Regions from separate parts of the Homo sapiens genome. Here regions 1 and 2 are each linked to region 3. The links are contacts of gene promoters, found by promoter capture Hi-C in blood cells and fetal thymus (Javierre and others, 2016). All regions are on one chromosome and are shown on one strand. The core of a region is centred on a gene start or on the middle of the fragment in contact, and the rest is flanking DNA. Distances in the headings are between cores, read along the strand shown.

Region 1 (4,563 bases), core at 1,936-4,435, 190 kb after region 3:
CTGTCATCCTCTACATTATGCCACCATCATGACTCAGAGCCAGTGTGTCATGCTGGTGGCTGGGTCCTGGGTCATCGCTTGTGCGTGTGCTCTTTTGCATACCCTCCTCCTGGCCCAGCTTTCCTTCTGTGCTGACCACATCATCCCTCACTACTTCTGTGACCTTGGTGCCCTGCTCAAGTTGTCCTGCTCAGACACCTCCCTCAATCAGTTAGCAATCTTTACAGCAGCATTGACAGCCATTATGCTTCCATTCCTGTGCATCCTGGTTTCTTATGGTCACATTGGGGTCACCATCCTCCAGATTCCCTCTACCAAGGGCATATGCAAAGCCTTGTCCACTTGTGGATCCCACCTCTCAGTGGTGACTATCTATTATCGGACAATTATTGGTCTCTATTTTCTTCCCCCATCCAGCAACACCAATGACAAGAACATAATTGCTTCAGTGATATACACAGCAGTCACTCCCATGTTGAACCCATTCATTTACAGTCTGAGAAATAAAGACATTAAGGGAGCCCTAAGAAAACTCTTGAGTAGGTCAGGCGCAGTGGCTCATGCCTGTAATCTCAACACTTTGGGAGGCTGAGGCAGACGGATCACCTGAGATCAGGAGTTCGAGACCAGCCTGGCCAACATGGCGAAACCCAGTCTCTACTAAAAATACAAAAAAATTAGCCGGGCATGGTGGTGCATGCCTATAGTCCCAGCTACTCGGGAGACTGAGGCAGAAGAATCACTTGAACCCAGGAGGCGGAGGTTGCAGTGAGCCAAGATCGTGCCACTGCACTCCAGCCTGGGTGACAGAGCAAGACTCTGTCAAAAAAAAGAAAAAAGAAAAAAAAATTATTGAGTAAAAAAAAACCATTATTCTAACTGATATTTACCTTTCTTTTAAAACATCCCATGTAATATTTTTCCTCAATAATACAGAAATACAAATTATTGAAAATATAGCTCACTTGTCTTTCTTCCACAGCTGTCACTCTGAAATGCTTTCCTGATATTATTATTGCATCTGTTTGAGGGAATAGTAAAATAGGATATGTTGTATAGGACTTTGTTTGCTCTTTTCTTGGGTAATGGAATTGGAAAATATTCTGAGCATGTTATGTCACTTTGGCTGGTATGAAAAGGAAGCCATCAGGGCTGACCTTTCCCAGATTTTAAATTTGTTATAAAATGTGTCTGGCCCTTCACACCTCTATTTCTTAGGAATTTTCCACTTTTGTGAAGATATGGCTCCTCTTTCGCCCAGGCACCAGATATCCAGGAAGCTGAAGCCCTTTCAGAAATTTTAAGAAAAACATATGACATTTCTCACTCCTTACATAATAATTAACACACTGCTGTCTTGTCCTTCCAGAATATAGCCCACACTTCCTTTCTCCCCAAACACATACAGATGTTCAGTGACAAAATAAATGTCACCTCAGTTCTCTCAGGGACTGATCTAAGAACTTAATATACCTTAAAATCATCTAACTTAATTCTGACAAAAACTCCAAAAGGTAAGTTTAAAAAACTCAGGCTCTAAAAGGGGAAGAATACCCCAAGATCATATAGTTCGTGAAAGGAAGACTTGAATCTTGGCATCTGATTCCAGAGTGACTCAGTGTAGCAAAGACTATAATAGTTTACATGGAACACTGTGTGGGTTTGAAGAGGAATAATTAGCTCAGTCTGATGGAAGAGGATATAAACAACTTCCCAAAGAAGGCGTTTCTTTACCTGAATCTTAACAGATGAGAACTATCCAGACACACAAGGTTTTATCTTGTTCTGATGATCACAGGAAGAGGGAGTAGTGTGTGTCAGGATGTTAAATTGGAAGTTTCAACTGAGGCACCAAGACCTGGGAGACAACAGATATTAAAGTGAATTGTGACACACAAAATGAAGATATTGATAGGAAATAATAATAATAATCAATATCGTAACACTTGAGCCTCTCAATCTAATGTGGATCTAAAAAGAGCTGAGAGCTGGAGGTAAGAGAGTGTCTTGTAAAGTTTTCTTTCAGAGAAAGCTGCATAGTGAACCCCAAATCCTCCTAACAGGGAGAGGGTTGTTTTTCTCCTTATCTCAAGCTTAATGGAAGAAGCTTCAATAGAACCACTTAGCAAGTTTCATATATATCCCCTGCTTTTGTGAGAGAAAGAGCAATAGAAAAGAAGAAATGTGGCGGGAGAGAGATAAAGACAATGATGAAATTATGTTTAGGGAATGCTTTCACTTCTTTTCATGGTGAGGCAATAAAATAACTGGGGATCCCAGTACCTGGTAGTGGACAGTGAGCCAGGAAGACCCCACCGTGGTGCTGTCCCCATGCCTAACCCTGCCCCTGGCCTCGCCCTCTAGCCCCTATCTCCTAGCGAGGCCCTGCCCCAACCTTCCCTGCCAAGCTGGATGGAGGAGGGTGTAGCCCAGGCTGCTCCTTGTCTGCCTGTTGTCCTGCCAAGTATTCACCTAGGAAAAAAAAAATTAGAGAAATGTCCAAATATGTTGAGTTTATTCAGGAATGAGAAATGAAAATTATAACCCAGGGTGCACAAAATGACAAGCCACCAGTGCATCTGGTGAGGGCAGGGTAAAGGGAAGCTCTCATTGGCAAGAAGGAAGAGGTTCGTGTCAGCTGCTTAGACACGGAGTCCACTGGCTCCAGAGGCTCAAAGCTAAAGTTGTCATCAGTTCATTGGTAGAGATGCTGTTACTGTGCAAATGACCATTTGAGAGCATGTTATCTGAATTACTGCAGTCCTGAAGAATGTCTAGTGATAAACCTTGCCATAGAAGCATATGTATATGTGTGAAACCTGCAAGCTGTACAAAGCAGATGAGTGAAAGATACAAAGAGATGTCTTCTGGAGCTCTTAGAAACTTCTTGGAAATAGTTCTTATCTCAGACACGTAAGCATGAGCCCCCTCTCCTTCATGCCTTCCCAGCCCTATTTTGTCTGGGTGTGACAAAAGTTATTTCATCCTGATACCTGCAACTTTCACATTTCCCTCTTTTGATAATGATTTTTCTCTAAAAATATCATTGATCAACTAGCCTGTAGCCAGGTTTGAATTGTCCTTTGGTGCTGGGATAGACCTGTTGTAGTTAGTTGATCTCATCCCACATCAGGCGGAAGTGATAAACAGCTGGAAGTCAGTCTCAAGACCCTTTTAGCCACATTTGAGCAAGAAGGAGGCCAGAAGGAGAAGCTCTTAGGCTTATCTCATCTGGATTTCATCATTAAATTTAATTTTGTCTGTTCCATAGGCATTGACTATCATCTCAAATTGCTGGGCCAACATTATTTTGTCAGGAGTTGTATTTCTGCAAAGATTTAACAGACAACAAGTATACAGTTTAAAAAGGAAAATACAGAGCAAAAATAGCCATAATATGACGAGTCCAGTTTGCATGATGCTTTTGAGCCATGAACAAAGGCAACCAACTAAATAGATAAAATGACCCCAGAGAAATGGGTGAGACTTGTAGCCAGATAGACTTGTTCTTTTAGTTTATGTAACTGAGTTTCAACTTACCTGGAGGAGTTAACCTGGGTACAACATGCAGTATTAGCAATCGCACAGATACCATCTTGCTCGGCTAATAGATAATCAAGAGCAATTCTGTCAACACTACCCTGGCAAGAGAAGCCAATGAATGCTATTGTATACTTGCAGTGAAGTCTGCAAGAATTCCTAGGGTAGCAAATAAATCTTTTACCATTTCTTCATTAGTGGCTATATCATACCATTATACAAAAGATCTGACAAAGGAAGCAATCCAGAGTCCCATGCCCACCTGGTAACTCATGTTTAACCCTTTGATATAGTAAGACGGGACTAGTCCAATGACAGTCCCGTGACCAGTTTCAGATCTATTATGCATTGACAACAGAGAAACAAAACATCCCAACACACATTAGCCTCCTGTTGTCCAAGTGTCTAAATATCTGGAGGCCCATATTGACATATCCCACCCACAAAAGTAAATATATCCAATAGGAAAACAAAGAATTCTTCCATCTGTAAATTTTCTGTGTCTGGCAGGATTAAACCAGGGGTCAGTTATATTACTATAAACTGCTAATGGCCCTTCCTCTTAAAATCAGTCCCAACAAGTTTTCTTACATATGGTAAAGAGACCCAAGGAATACTTTTAGAGAGATGATCCATTGCACGTCTCTAGGGCCCTACTAGGAGATCATTGTTTTGAGTAGATGAGACAGGAGACAGGAATAGAAGGTGAATGAGAAAGCTTAACCTTATAGGATGGTCCCATGATACACTTTGTACAGAGGGTTGGAGCTGAGATGTTTGTTACAGATTGTACTAAATTTGTTACAGATTGTACTAAAAGAAAACTAGAGTCATTAACAGGTCAGGATTTTTTATGACAGATCCAACAATCAGTAAGTTTTCCCCTGTACCAACAGACTGGGAAATGTGGACAGGAATATCGTCTTCCAGGGAAAAGAAATGGATAAGATAAAGTAAGAATTAGAAATAAGGAAAGGGTATATAGAAGTCATCCAAACATCTTGGGAGAAACAGATGCCACCT
Region 2 (4,952 bases), core at 2,418-4,917, 140 kb after region 3:
AAACGGGCTTCATTTTGGGGTCTACCACACACTAGCCATAAGATTGTAGTCTGGTTACTTAGCCTCTCTGAGCCTTGGTTTTCTCATTTATAAAATGGAGATAACAGTTTCTATCTAATAATGTAACTTGGAGGATTAACTGAAATAAACTATGAAATGCATTCAGTATAGTAGTGAATAACAGTAGGTGTTCAATAAGGGATAGCTATTATTATTACTATTAGTATTCTTCATTCCTCCCCCAACTCAGAAGTCAAAAAATCTTTTCTCTGAGATATATTTGTTCAATAAATATTTACTATCTATGGTGTGTTGGAAGTTATTGTAAGTGCTAGGGTTATGACACTGAGCAAGACAAAGTCCCTGCTTTCATGACACTTTCATTCTAGGTTATTAATTTGTCGATCATTAAAATTTTGGGGGCACTTGTTTTGTTTGTGGCATTAAGTGGGGAGTAAGACAAAAGAAATAAAGATGGAGGCTGCATTCCATGTGCTGCAGAATAGCTAAAGAGATCCCCATCAAAAGGTTCAAATTCAATGTTTAGGTTTCCATGCGGGTTGCCCACCCCACGGTTGGCTAATGTTTCACTAGGAAGGGGGTTAAAGCTCCTTGTGCTACCTCTGCCCCATGCTGGTCAGAAACGTGCAATGCCACCATCCTTTTAGTGACTATTAGATGAGAGGAACGTGGAAATCCTCTCTCCTTATTTGACTGCAGGTTTGCGTCCACATCTAAAAGGGGCACCAGCAGCTTAAATTAGTTGCAGAGATGGAAAAAATGATGTTTGAAGGTAAATGGCATTCTATCTGTCTCCAAGAATCTTAGAAATATTAAAAATATTATTTTAAATATAAGGGCTATATAGTTTTGATTTCTTACATCTGGTATCACCAGGTGTCCACTGGCTACCTAAACTCCTTCCTCATTTAAGTTTGTTTCTCAGACCTAACCTATTCTAAAATGTTTTATGATTGCTGCACTTTTTCAATGAATACTTATGGAGCATCTTTCATGGAATCAAACTGTTCCAGGCTTCAGCTATTAGTAAGTACAAATGTGAATCATTTAGATGCCACATCTTAGTACGCGAGGATTCCATTTATTTCATGACCTGGAACTGGAAGTCTGTTCTTCTCTCTAGAACTCCTTTCCAGATGTTCCCTCAGAGAGTCCTTGAATGGGATGAGCAGGGCATCGTCATGTAACCAGAGCTGGAGATGGTTGCAAACTTGGAGTTCTCCTGCCCTCATCTCCTTAGTCTACAACTCTCCTTCCATTCTGTTGACATCTATCGCTCCACTGACCAAAGACCACTGACAGTCTCCTCCAAGCCATTGACCTCTAGCTTTCTTCTATCATTTGAACTGGCAATGGACTATCCTCCACTTCTCATGATCAGCTCTTTCAGAAGAGGGTCTCCTAGGAGAGCTCTAAGGCCCCTGATGACACAGCTAGTGGACATGAGGAAGCCTGAGGTGTGAGATCACCAGATACAGCCTCACACTATATCTGAAACCTATGTCCACCCTGATACCCTAAATCTGCTGCTCAGATTCACCCAATCAACTTTACCTTCTTTACTCATGGTGTCTATGTCGCCTTCTGGTTTCATTCACCATTCTGATCCTCAGGGACCCTCAATCCACTCACTGATAGTGCGGTAAATTTATGAATCCTGTTTGGGTATGGTTTAAGTTCTTTCTCACAGGCCCCAAGCAAACTAGAAGATGTGACTGGGTGTCCACTTCAGTTTACTTAATATAATTCTGTGGCCGTTAGGAGTTAGGTCAGCACTCAGCATACAAAGATTCATCAACGGACACTGTTGCCTATCACTGTTCAATAGTCTAACATTCCTCGATTCCAGCCAGCCAAGAGTTATCAATGTATTCAAAGTTCCAAACTTATTCCTCCTTTGATATACAGTCATACATTACTTAACTATGTGCATATGTTCTGAGAAATGTTTCACTGGGCAATTTTGTCATTGTGCAAACATCATAAAGTACACTTACACAAACCTAGATGGGATGGCCTACTATACAGCTAAGCTATATGGTATAACTAATGCTCCCAGGCTACAAACCTGTACAGCTTGTTAATGTACTAAATGCTGTAGGCAACTGTAACACTATGGTAAGTATTTCTGTGATAGGATTTATTCAGTTCCATTATGAGCTTGAAACCACTGTGGCATATGGAGTCTATTGTTGACCAAAACATCATTATGAGGCACATGACTATCTTATCACACCCATCCCCAAAACATAAGCTCAAATTTCTATTCCTTTAAGGTCATCTATGTCAAAGAGAATTAATGTGATGTTAGCATTAAAATAATTCCTGCTGACATACAGGTGACTTATAAATCTTTGCACCTTGGTAGGGTAATGAGCAGGGCATGCTTTGAATCAGAGGTGGGGTAATGGAGAGAGGTAGCATGATAGAAAGCTTCCCAGTGCCCCTTGCCTATTTAGGGGTTTTGCTTTCTTCTTGCTCAGAACCCATTTTTAAGAAGCAAATGGTCTTCAGTTTGTTTCCTCACTTCCTTAAGACTGTTAAACCTAATCAAAATTATTTAAGGTGCCTAGTCTTCCATTTTGTTCTTAAATATCAGTCCACAGAACCATAAATCAAGAGCAATCCTTCATTCTATCACCTACTTCCCATCAATTACCAATACCGTCTAGTCTACCTTCAAGAGTATTCTCTTCTCTATCTATATGCCATTGTCTTCATCCAGGCACACATTATCTGTTACCTGAATGTACAATGACCTTCTAATTAAGCATCTTGATTCAAGGCACTCCGATCCATTGCCAAACCATCTCACACGTTGGTTACCCGAGTAATCTTTAGAAAACACAAACATAACCTTCCCTGAGACTAATCCCAATTCCACCCCACCCCAGCCAATGGTGCCCATCACTTGCAAGGCAATGTCTAAACCTCTTAACAGGACAATCTACCCCCCTCACAATATAGTCTTTGTCTCCCTGTCTAGACTCACCTCTTGATGCTTCCTTGACTCATACACACCTATGTATAGCAACATCATTTTTCTTACATTTCCCTGAACATACCATGCAAATTCAGTGCCCTGGCCCACTCTGTCCACTCTACCTAGACTCATTTGTTCCATTATGTATCAATCCTGAGCATCCTTCAACCCCCAACTGAAGAATTACTTCCCCTGTAAAGCTTTTGCTGATATCCAGGCAGCATTAACTATACGCCCTTGTGTTACTACCATGTAAGTATTTCATCGTCTCTAAGCCTCAATTTTCCCAGCTGTAAAATATAGATAGTAACAGTGTATATATGTAGAATTATTATGAGGATTAAATGACATAATACAGGTACAGCTTTTAATACAATGCCTGACACACAGTAGCCATGCAAAATAAGCACAACTATTCGTGGTGTTATTACGTTAAGGCACTTTTTGTACTCTTGCATATTTCTTAGTTTACCTGTTGCTACACTATCAGAATATGAGCTTCTTTTGCCTGGAGGCTTTCTCTTTATCCAGATCTGTTTGACCAAGAATAGGCACACTGCCTGGCACAGACAGGTAACTTGCTGAATGGCTACTGAGGGGCACAATCTATAAAATAAAGAATGTTTTACTATTTTTAGTATTAATTCCAACATTTGTCCTTAATTACAAACAAATTAAATTGTATGTATATGTGAGTTACACACACACACACACACACACATGCACACAGTTCTTGGATTCAAATAATATAACCATCACAACATTAATGGGTTTATTTTTTCCTTCAAAAGCTAAGTGAACTTAATTCTTTAGCAAATTCCCCTTCCACTTTCCATCTGTGACAAAATAGAATAATTTTTGTTTACTCTTAAAATTTCCATGTCAGAATTGTGTGTTACATATGTGCTAAAATCAAGTGCTGGAGTTCCTGGTTCTAGGATGTTTTGATTCCTCCCCTCTGAGGAAGATTGTTCTATTGTCACACTGTGAAAGAATTAGTGTTAACTTTTGAGAAGGAAGTACACTGGTCACTTGAAACGTCCATAATTGCCAATTTTCAGAACTATTTGTTAACTTGTGAAAAAAAATCACACATTCATGGATTTCAAAAATGCAGCAAGCTTTGTTCTAAACTCAATGAGGTGCTTCACTGGAAAAGGTCACGAATCCTAGCCCTGGCATGGCTAGAGGGAAATGCACTCATATAAAGTGCACACTTCCAATGTGATTGATGTTCAGTTCTATTTGCATATTCAAATCAATACGGTGCACCCCAGTGTGCTTTGGGCTGTCCAAAACCAAGACAAACTGATCTGGGAGATGAGGTGGACTGGTAAGACAGATAGTGATGAAACACTTCCCAACAGACAAGTGAGCTTGCCATTTCTTGAGGAAAAGTCATTCAGAGAAGTGTCACCAGCCTGTGGCTAAAACATAAATGACAATATTGGTCTCTCTGGAGGATGGGCCTGACAAGACTAGGCAGATCTTCAGGGATCTGAACAACAGAACTGGGGTGCCGGCAGGGAAACTGAGTCAGGCACTTAGTTCTACAGATCACATCACTATAGCAGAGATGAGAGTGTACAGCAGGTCATGATTGTGCTGAGGCTATCAAGGCATGCTTTACCTAGACCAACAATAAACCAACAATAAAGATTCTATCCCTGTTCAGGTTTTGGCTCTGGAAAAGGTCGGGGCTAAGCCTGTAAACAAAGTGACCCTGTGCTTGCAGCAAGGAGTGGGGGTGGCACTCTTTCTTGTTCTACAAAGGACTGGATGCCAAAAGGCAGCTACATGAGCCCCCGATGAAGGATCACTCTTTGAGTCAATATCAAACAAGTGAAGAGTAAGGTCTTTTTCTGATCTGTCTTTCCTTACCTACCCACACATGAACTCACTTGTTCATTGCCCTTTAGTTATTTGGTTCTAGCTCAAGCCAGAACAG
Region 3 (4,392 bases), core at 1,160-3,659:
AGTTAAAGAAATCCCTCCACTCTTTTGTGTTCTGGAAAAGAATGAACTTTGTCCCACCCTCAATCTGAGTTAACACATAACCCCTCCTTAATGACCCCTCTGGAGCGTCAACTGATAAAATACATTCTTTGATCAACTCTTCAGTCCTGCTACTGTTACTAGCTCATCCCACTTCTGCATATCTGTTTCTTTCTAGCCTCATTCATGTTCACTTCTCTTTATGAAAGAAAATTCCTTTTCTGTCTGACATTTGACACTTTTGTTGGTCTCACAATTGAGACATTCTCCCTAGTGTAATAGTCTCCCTTGCATTATTGCTATAGACCATTTCCCCACTTTTGCAGTAATATCTCTCCTTACCTAAGACCAGATTGGATTTTTATTTGACATCTGTTACTTAAAAGTATGTGTGTTTCTCTGTACCTTGCAAACCTAAAACAATCCAATTAACAGGAAATTGCCCTCCAAATACTTGTATTGCCTGTGTTATTTTGTTTCCTTAGACCCTGCTGATCTTTGGCCTTCAGATTGTTGACTTAAATCATGTAGTACATTATCTTTGTTTTTAAGTCCAGTAGGCTGGTTCATGGTGTATCAGAAGTAGAAATTTGTTGAAAGAGCAAATGAATTCATAAATCTCTGAGTTGCAAGATAATTCATGGACTAGCAGTGACTAATATTTCTCAGAACTCACAAATGAGCAAAAGTGTTTCTTTCCTACCCAATTTGTTTTTCTGGTTGGAAGACTGTCTTCAAAGTCTGTTAAGGAAGAGAACTGCCCCAGCAGTTGGAGGCATCTGCTACTAAGGTTACTGGGACCTAACACATACCTCCCGGGAAAACAGTGCAGTTGAGTTTGGGTCAAATGAAATTAATGAGAGATTTAAGGTACAGTCAGCTTTGCCAGGTGGGAAGCAGGAAGAATACTGAGATGCCATACTCTTAGGAACCTGACCTGGCACTGATTCACTAAGAGTTATCTAGTGGGATGATTTTATTTGTTGAGACTATGACAACTATAGAAGCCAGGCTTTAATCTTTGAGGAAATGCAGAGGAAGGAGTCACAGTTCTGACATTTATAATGGGAGAAAGAGAGAGACCTCGTTATTGAGGAGCCCCTGGGCTAATATGATGAAGCGACACACACACACATACACACACACATGCACACACGCACGCACACACACACAGAGTAGCTCAAAGACATTCAAGCAGCTTTACATTACTATACAAGAAAACCCAGCTGCATGAATAGGGATACTCAGGAGATTACAGTGATCCAACTTAGTTTGTAGGCATTATATTCAGGAGTAGCTTCAATACATGCAATAAACATTCTTCTGTAAGGAATGAAACACCATCATTGAAGGTACTATCCTTTCAGAATCTAATAATCATTTCAGAATCACATACCCATTAATAACCTATAGTCCAGGGCAAGAGATCTGTGGTATTCTCTTAAGACCTTAGGTCTTTTACTGACATTTCATCCTGTGCATCAACTTTGCCAAACCCTGCTTCATGTCTTTGTTCCTCAGACTATAGATAAATGGATTTAGCATAGGAGTCAGTACGGTGTAGATAATTGTTGCTATTTGATCCTTGACAGTATAGTTGGACAGGGGCTGAAAATAGAGATAGCTAATGCTTCCATAAAACAGGGTCACCACTGTGAGATGAGAGCCACAGGTAGAAAATGCTTTACGCTTTCCAGCAGCTGAAGGAATCTTCAGAACAGTGATGAGGATTCTTAAATAAGAGATGATGATGCATGAAAACGGGGTCATTATGACAGCCAAGCCTTCTGTCATTACTGTGATTTCTTTGACAAAATGGGAGGAACAGGACAATTTTAGCACTGGTTGATCATCGCAGAAAAAGTGATGGATGACATTTGAGGCACAGAAGATGAGCTGATTAGTCAGAAGAATGTGCAGGAGGGAGTGAAAATGTGGAATGCAGAAGGAGAGAACCAGAAGCAGGACACAGCATCTGTGACTCATAATGGTGATGTAGTGGAAGGGATTACATATGGCCACATAGCGGTCAATGGCCATGGCTGCTAGCAGGTAACTGTCTGTGTTTCCAAAGGCTAAGAAAAAGTACATCTGGGTCAGACACTCACTGTAAGAGATGGTCTTTGTCTCTGATAAGAAGTTCACCAGCATCTTAGGGATAATGACTGTCACATAGCAAATGTCAACAAAAGACAGGATGCTTAGAAAGAAGTACATGGGCGTCTGGAGACGAGTGTCTGAGCGGATGGCCAGGATGATAAGCAGGTTTCCTATCACTGTGATAAGGTAGATGGGGAGGAACACAGCAAAGAGCGGCTTCTGATCCTCAGGTCGAGAGGAGAGTCCAAGGAGGATGAATTCAGAGGGTCTTGTTAGGTTATTTCTTCCCATAGTTGTGGGTTCACCTAAAGATAAACTAACACTGTAACAGATTCTTCCAACATCTGATACAATCTGTCCAAAATTTCTCCTTTTATTCTTCTTATCAGCAAAGAAAAAATTTAAAACATTACAATTATCTGGATTGTGGTTTCTTTCCATTAATGTGGGATATTTAGAAATTAATATATATTTTAATCTCAGTTGCCTGCTATAAAGAAACAAATTACAGGGAAACAGAAATGGGAAAAAGAGAAAAGAAGAGATATAGGGCAAGAGGAAGGAGTGAGTGCAAGAGAATTCCCAGAAGGAGAGGAGGGGAATCCTGGAGAAATTATTCTCTTCTTTTTCTGTATATATTTATCGTATTCACGGTTTTCAGTAATTAGTTTATGACAGGTTTAAAAAAGTTTCATCTCTCAATTTCCAGCTGATGGAATAATGATTTCCCTTAGTTCGGATACTTCTGTCTGCATCAGTTATTCTGGAGGCTGGCAATCATGTAAAAAGACATTGAAATATGAGATTACCCAACAGTTACTCCATTTCCCTCATTTTTTAGTGAAACCTTATTTGAGTGAAAGGATAGGTATGAAGAGGCAAAAGATAGACAGAAATAACAGGATAGTAAAAACATTTCTTTTCCTTATTTTTTTTTTTTTGAGACAAGGTCTTGCTTTGTCACCCAGGCTGGAGTGCAGTGGCACAATCTTAGCTCACTGCAACCTCTGCCTCCTGGGTTCAAGCGATTCTCCCCCCTTAGCCTCCTGAGTAGCTGGGATTACAGGCTTGTGCCACCACACCCAGCTAATTTTTGTATTTTTAGTAGAGATGGGGTTTCACCATGTTGGCCAGGCTGGTCACGAACTCCTGATCTCAAGTGATCCGCCCACCTTGGCCTTCCAAAGTGGTGGGATTACAGGCATTAGTCACCGCACCCGGCCAACATTTCTTTTAATGTAACATAAACCTCATTTTTGTTATCCAGCCCCTAAATGCTAAAATCGTCATTGTTAGTGCATGCTTGTCTGTGTTGGTGTAATTCTTTTCCCAATTCCAGTCTCAGTTATATATATGCTTCCCCAAAAAACCACACAGAGAAGGCACCTGATTCTAGACAAGCTTTCAACCCTCATGAAGCTGAAGATTTTCCTCTCTTCCTCCTCTGGGCCTCCCACATGCTGAAGAGATTAAAGACACTCATAGACCCCACCCTCTGTCAAGGGAGCATCCTTTGAGATCATCAAGAAGTCCCTGGAGTTCAGATGGAGAAGACAGCAGAAAACAAGCCAAGAACTATTACGGTTTTGGAGTTTCTTCCCCAAGGAGCCTGGGGAGTGTCAGTGCCTTCTCTCTCTCTCAGAAATCACCCTCCTGACCTAACTCCTTTTGGTGAAAAAGACCCCACCTGTGTGAGGCTGGCTCAAGTGACAGACTTCCTGAGCCTCACCGCTGTGCTGCTTACATTGAAAGACAGAATGTGGGGTTGGAGAACGTTTTCTCGGAATTCGTTGATCATCAAGCTAAAACAACTAGAACATCTTATGCCACTAGTCACTTTCCCATCTCCCAGTGTTAGAAGCAGTCCCTTGCTAGACACTGTTCTTAGAACTTTAAAATATAATAAGCAATAGGGTTAAGACTTTAGACCCTAGGCCTGGAATCTTTACTCTTCTGTCTGAAGCATCCTTAAGTCTACTTATGTATGACCCTTGCTTCTCACTCAGGAAAGCCATCAGGGCATATATATATAGCGTTAGCTATTAATTTTATTACAGTTGTAACACACAAACATTAAGCAAACCAGATCGATATTTTTATTGTTAAAGCAACTTTCAAAAAAAGTGGTTGGGGCCGGGCGCGGTGACTCACGCCTGTAATCCCAGCACTTTGGGGGGCCGAGGTGGGTGGATCACGAGGTCAGGAGATCGAGACCATCCTGGCTAACACGGTGAAACCCCGTCTCTATTAAAAAAATACAAAAAAATTAGCTGG

Evidence for each region. The method cuts DNA at HindIII sites, captures the fragments that hold promoters and counts their contacts. A CHiCAGO score of 5 or more calls a contact.
Region 1: a contact is called between a fragment that was not itself captured here and the fragment with the promoter of OR1L1 in region 3, in 1 of 17 cell types (endothelial precursors). The highest score is 6.4, in endothelial precursors.
Region 2: a fragment that was not itself captured here is called in contact with the fragment with the promoter of OR1L1 in region 3 in 1 of 17 cell types (endothelial precursors); the score reaches 5.1 in endothelial precursors.

What each region holds. Positions count from the first base shown.
Region 1 is chr9:122,472,987-122,477,549 of GRCh38, reverse strand. OR1J1 (olfactory receptor family 1 subfamily J member 1) reads left to right here. Exons shown (of 1, transcript NM_001004451.1): 1 at 1-592. The coding sequence ends at 592. It also overlaps a transcript of OR1J2 not described here. Among named protein-coding and RNA genes, the nearest start is that of OR1J1, 2.7 kb to the left of the region's middle. The HindIII fragment of the contact is 2,151 bases long and covers 2,110-4,260 here.
Region 2 is chr9:122,521,357-122,526,308 of GRCh38, reverse strand. It overlaps a transcript of OR1J2 not described here. Among named protein-coding and RNA genes, the nearest start is that of OR1N1, 3.5 kb to the left of the region's middle. The HindIII fragment of the contact is 921 bases long and covers 3,207-4,127 here.
Region 3 is chr9:122,659,733-122,664,124 of GRCh38, reverse strand. It overlaps OR1L1 (olfactory receptor family 1 subfamily L member 1), which reads right to left and starts at 2,409. Exons shown (of 1, transcript NM_001005236.3): 1 at 1,477-2,409. The coding sequence starts at 2,409. The coding sequence ends at 1,477. The HindIII fragment of the contact is 3,812 bases long and covers 1-3,521 here.